Linked DNA regions of Homo sapiens: region 2 is linked to region 1. Evidence: promoter capture Hi-C in 16 types of primary human blood cells and fetal thymus (Javierre and others, 2016). All regions are on one chromosome and are shown on one strand. Each heading gives the region's core, a stretch centred on a gene start or on the middle of the fragment in contact. The rest is flanking DNA. Distances are from core to core; before and after follow the strand shown.

Evidence for each region. The method cuts DNA at HindIII sites, captures the fragments that hold promoters and counts their contacts. A CHiCAGO score of 5 or more calls a contact.
Region 2: a fragment that was not itself captured here is called in contact with the fragment with the promoter of HEMK2 in region 1 in 1 of 17 cell types (naive CD8 T cells); the score reaches 5.8 in naive CD8 T cells.

The regions. Positions count from the first base shown.
Region 1 is chr21:28,884,075-28,886,791 of GRCh38, reverse strand. HEMK2 (HemK methyltransferase 2, ETF1 glutamine and histone H4 lysine) reads left to right here and starts at 1,425. Exons shown (of 6, transcript NM_013240.6): 1 at 1,425-1,580. The coding sequence starts at 1,447. RefSeq lists enhancers at 1,008-1,566, 1,512-1,571, 1,567-2,126. The HindIII fragment of the contact is 10,284 bases long and covers 1,050-2,717 here.
Region 2 is chr21:29,450,764-29,453,683 of GRCh38, reverse strand. The region is part of intron 1 of LOC107985486 (a long non-coding RNA gene); the gene reads right to left. Among named protein-coding and RNA genes, the nearest start is that of BACH1-IT3, 44 kb to the left of the region's middle. The HindIII fragment of the contact is 1,773 bases long and covers 666-2,438 here.

The DNA.
Region 1 (2,717 bases), core at 176-2,675:
TAGTACCAGTTATGTAAATTTTAAAATACACCGTATGTTGCTTATAAAGATATGAATGTTTATAAACGTATAAATACAAGATCCATGTTTTTACATGGATTAGATGGACATACACTAAATCCATAAGAGCCTTGGAGAGAATGTTACACAATTAAACTGAAGGCAAATAGAGAAAGAACATCCATCTTATTTGTAATATTTTAGTTCTTGTATTTAAAAAATATTTTAAGGAAACATGAGAAAATACTGTCATTTCTGGGTTTAAAACTTGGGGTTTTGAAATTTGTAACCCAGCCGGGTGCGTTAAAGGCTCACACCTGTAATCTCAGCACTTTGAGAGCCCAAGGCGGGTGGATCACCTGAAGTCAGCAGTTTGAGACCAGCCTGGCCAACATGGGGAAAATCCGTCTCTACTAAAAATACAAAAATTAGGCAGCCGTGGCTGCAGGCGCCTGTAATCCCAGCTACTCCGGAGGCTGAGGCAGGAGAACCGCTTGAACCTGGGAGGCAGAGGTTGCAGTGAGCCTAGCTCGCGCCACTGCACTCCAGCCTGGGGGATACAGCGAGACTCTGTCTCCAAAAAAAAAAAATACATAAGTAGAAATAAAATAAAATAAAATTTGTACCTCAAATACTTTTCTGTATTTTTATTTCTCAAATTTAAAAAACGAGCTGTAAAAATGTTTCATTGCGAAACAAATTTCAGAAATTGACTCAAAAAGAATGCAAATACTTGAATAGTCTAATAACTTACAGATGTTCCAAAACATCAAAGATCCATTCACTCAAAAAGGCACCAAGCCCAGCCAGTTTTAAGGCTTTCTACCTAATGTTCCAGAAACAGTGTCCTAACTCACATAACGAGGGTAGCGTAATCTTGGTAAAAAAAAACGGAGCCAGATTATTAGCCTCCCCAATTCAGCAGTGTATTAAACCGCATCATCTTGCTTAAGGTTTATAAAAAGAGTGCATTCATGATTCATCAGGAAGGCAATTTATAAAGTACAGTAAAAAAACGAGGAAAGTCTTCATCTTTATAGCGTAAAGCTTAAAGTTCAGCTGACAAAAAAACAGTAAAATTTATTATGTATTTTTTCAAATCCTTGCAAACTAGGAATAAAACAGAATTTCCAAATATCATTAGAATGAAGAAAGAACATTCACCTTAGTCAAAAACAACTCAGAATGCCCACTATCAGGTTCTAGTTCACAGAATAAAATTTAAATGTTCCAAAGAAGAAAGCAAATGTCAATAGTCACGGATTATACAACTGTCTACTTAGCAATTTCAAGGAGAGCCACTGACAAATTTAGAATTAAGACCCAACAACAACACACTGGTCGCCCGGGACGCCAGCCCCACTCCTAGGCCTGCGCATGAGGGTGAGGGCATGCGCATGCGCATGCGCACGCCCTGCGCACGCGCATGGAACGCAGCGAAGGACTATGGCAGGGGAGAACTTCGCTACGCCGTTCCACGGGCACGTGGGCCGCGGCGCCTTCAGCGACGTGTACGAGCCCGCGGAGGACACGTTTCTGCTTTTGGACGCGCTGGAGGCAGCGGCTGCCGAACTGGCAGGGTGCGAGGAGGGGAGGGGCTCTGACGGGAAAGGGTTGCGGCTTTCTGAAGAAGTGCGGTGGAGGAGGGCCGGAACGGTGACTATCACCGCCCTGAGCCGGAGCAGGCGGGGTCCACTTGCAGATGATTGACAGCCAGGACGCCGTAATTGAGAATTTTCCTGTAGCTACAAGTAATGAGTGTGCCGGGGACGCATCTCCTTTGCCAGGGGGCTGCTCTGTCTCATGAGCTCCCTGACTGCTTACCATGCAAAGGCGTATCTTTTCCTGTCGCCTGTTAATCTGAAGAACACATGTCCCTGAGAGAAGCGATAGTATAACACGTTTGGAAACAAAATATTCCGGAAACATTGCTTATTAATATTTTTAAAGTATTACATATTAAAATTGCATGGTATTATTTGATTTACTCAGCACATAGAAAGCACCCTTAACAAACATGAAAGAAAGTTGTGTTACTGGAGTGGGGAAATATTTTTAAACCCACTGAATAGCATACTCTAGCACCAGCCAGTCCTCACATGTGGCTACAGAGCGCTTGAAATGTGGCTAGTGCTATTGAGGAACTGAATTTTTCATTTAATTGTTACCAAAAAAAAGTTACATGCAGCTAGCAGACAATAGTCTACCCTAGCACTTTATTTAAATGGATTTATTGAAGTGATCGCCATCAATTTTAAATTAATAGCAGAAGGAATGAATACTGACATTGTGATTTTTAAATGTAAGGAATTTGGGTTGTTAGATTTGTTTGAAGATAAGATGAACTGGGTTTTCTCAGGATGGAACAAACAGCTTTCAGGTTTCAAAGATCTATATTGTATTTATTTATCCCTCTTAAACTTGGTCATATTTCTCCAGTATAAAATGTCCCAGCTCTTATTAAACTAGTCTTTCATTGTAGATGATGGAACTTTTGGATCTACTGGAATATACAGTGGAACAGTACTGTTTTATAACTTGTCTTTTCTTCTCAAGATAGCCCAGAAAGATTTACAAGCACAAATTGCACTGCAAAGTATGCTGTAAAAGGAGCTGATTTTGTTATAAAGTCTTGGGTTATTTCTAGTTTGGAATTCTAATTATTTATGAGACCATGATAGTTATTTTCAAAGAGAAGCCACCTGGTGAGATTCTCA
Region 2 (2,920 bases), core at 303-2,802, 570 kb before region 1:
GGCCAATACGACCAGTCATTAAAATCTTTCAGTTTAAGTCCAAAACAGAGAAGCTCTATACACTGAACTGTAGGGATGTGTGTATGAATTGCCTGATAAATATGCAGAATGATGTTTCCCAGTGCTCCTAAATGATATTAATAAGTCGAGCTCTGCAAGGAAAAACAGAGGTCAAAGCAACCAACAGAGTAAGCCAAAAATGGGTTCCCATTAGAATAAATTTCTAATAATGAATTTCTCTAGAAAACTGCCAGACTACCTTTATCTAAAACTATAGAAAAAGATCTGGTTCCCATTTTGTAGGGTCTACACAGGGAAATAATAAGTGAACAAATGTGGGCTGAAAGCATAATGGCTAATAATATTTCCCAGAAGAGAAGAAAGAGGTGAGCTGTGTCTTTACAGACATTGCCAATAGGTAAGAGAGGGCACAGAAACTCAAAGAAGCCTTAGATTTACTGAATGTAAGAGAAGGAAGAGGAGAAAAGAGATGTAGATACAAGATTAAAGATTATAAATAAAATTACCATAAGTGACCCCAATTTACCAATCATTTGAAGTGGTTCTAAGAGCAAGATTGTTTCATATTGCCTAAGTTTATGGCAAGGAGCATCAGTGATGTTACACTTTTCAAATGTATCATAACTTACGCATTTCAGAAAGCTTGTACATGGATTATCGTAATTGAGCCTCACAAAAAAACTTTTAAATGGCCTCCTGTGTGATGGTTAATTTTATATGTCAACTTGACTGGGCTTAGGGATGCCCAGATAGTTAGTAAAACACTATTTCTGGGTGTATTTGTGAGGGTCTTTCTGGAAGAGATTAGCATTTGACTCAGTAAACTGAGTAAAAAAAACTGTCCTCACCGAGGTAGGTGGATATCACCCAGGCCATTAAAGGTCTAAATAGAACAGAAAAAAAAATAAAAAATTACTATTTTCAATCAGAAGGATTGTAAAATTCTAATATCTGCCTTTGCACATTTTCTGTCATAAGCTAACCATTGAAAGCTAATTAGGCAAAAATTATTTATTCAAATGTCTACCCCTAACATTACTATCTTAAATTCCACATTCTTTTCTATGTGACTAAGAGCACCATTTTATATCAGGTGTTCTATCCTTTAGGGCTATTGTGAGACATGAGGAATACTTCCATCTCTGATAACCAAGCTGGGGAAATGCCCCTTGATACACCAAATCTCAACTATTAAATGATCTAAAGCAGTGTTTCTAAAATTGTAGTCAATGGACTATCTTCCTTAAAAGGAACTAGAGATCTTGTTAAAATGCAGACTCCTAAGTCCTACCCCAATACTTTTGAGTCAGAATTTCTAATTGGGTCCCAGCTATATTTTAACAAACATCCTAGATAATATTTGTGTACAGGGTAGGATAAGAACCACTGAATCAGAAAATTGGAGCGATGAGTATACAAATAAGACTCAGGCCCTAACACAGAACCCTCTACACATTATACCCAGGGACAGCAAGTACAGATCAAAATAAACAAAAACAAAACGTCCTAGCTTAGGTAAAAAAATAAAAATGAAAAACAGGACAGGTGCGGTGGCTCACGCCTGTCATCCCAGTACTTTGGGAGGCTGAGGAGGGCGGATCACTTGAGGTCAGGAGTTCAAGACCAGCCTGGCCAACATGGTGAAACCCCGTCTCTACTGAAAATACAAAACTTAGCCAGGCGTGGTGGTGCATACCTGTAGCCCCAGCTACTCGGGAGGCTGAGGCAAGAGAATCACTTGAACCCGGGAGGTATAGGCTCCAGTGAGCCGAGATTGCACCACTGCACTCCAGCCTGGGCGACAGAATGAGACCCTGTCTCAAAAAAAAAAAAAAAAATTCTCATTTAAATGCCTTCAAAGGAGGTTTTACAAAGCCTCTTGATATTGACAGCTTCTTTTTTTTTTTTCGAGATGGAGTCTCACTCTGTCGCCCAGGCTAGAGTGCAGTGGCATGATCTTGGCTCACTGCAACCTTCACCTCCCAAGTTCAAGTGATTCTCCTGACTCAGTGTCCCGAGTAAGTTTGGATTACAGGCGTGTGCCACCATACCCAGCTAATTTTTGTATTTTTAGTAGAGAGGGAGGTTTCACCAGGTTGACCAGGCTGGTCTCGAACTCCTGACCTCATGATCCACCAGCCTCAGCCTCCCAAAGTGCTGGGATTACAGGCATGAGCCACCATGCTCAGCCAATAACTTCCTATATGAGTGTGCTTCACTCTAAACATGCACACACACAAAACTAAAATGTGTATATTTAAAAAATCAAATTACTACAATTTTCCTTAAATTTTGGAATATCTTATCCAGGGTTATTTAAAATAGTGTACACAATTATGCATTTTAAATATTGTTCTATCTAGACATAACTTTACACACAGCTGTTCATGAATGTGTCTATTGAACAAAGGTAAGCTTATAGATTTTTCCCAAATAACCCTTCATTTTGGAATTTTCTTTTTTTTTTTTCTGAGACGGAGTTTCGCTCTTGTTGCCCAGGCTGGAGTGCAATGGTATGATCTTGGTTCATCACAATCTCCGCCTCCTGAGTTCAAATGATTGTCCTGCCTCAGCCTCCCAAGTAGCTGGGATTACAGGCATGCGCCACCACACCCAGGCAATTTTGTATTTTTAGTAGACACAGGGTTTCTCCATGTTGGTCAGCCTAGTCTCAAACTCCCGGCCTCAGATGATCAGCATGCCTCAACCTCCCAAAGTGCTGGGATTACAGATGTGAGCCACCGCACCCAGCCAATTTTGGAATTTTCAAAATACGTCAAGGACTGTAGAACTATACATACACACACACACACATATGTATATATAAAATATACGTATAAATACATATATATATAATGTTTATATATACATATATACAATATAATATATACATATGTAT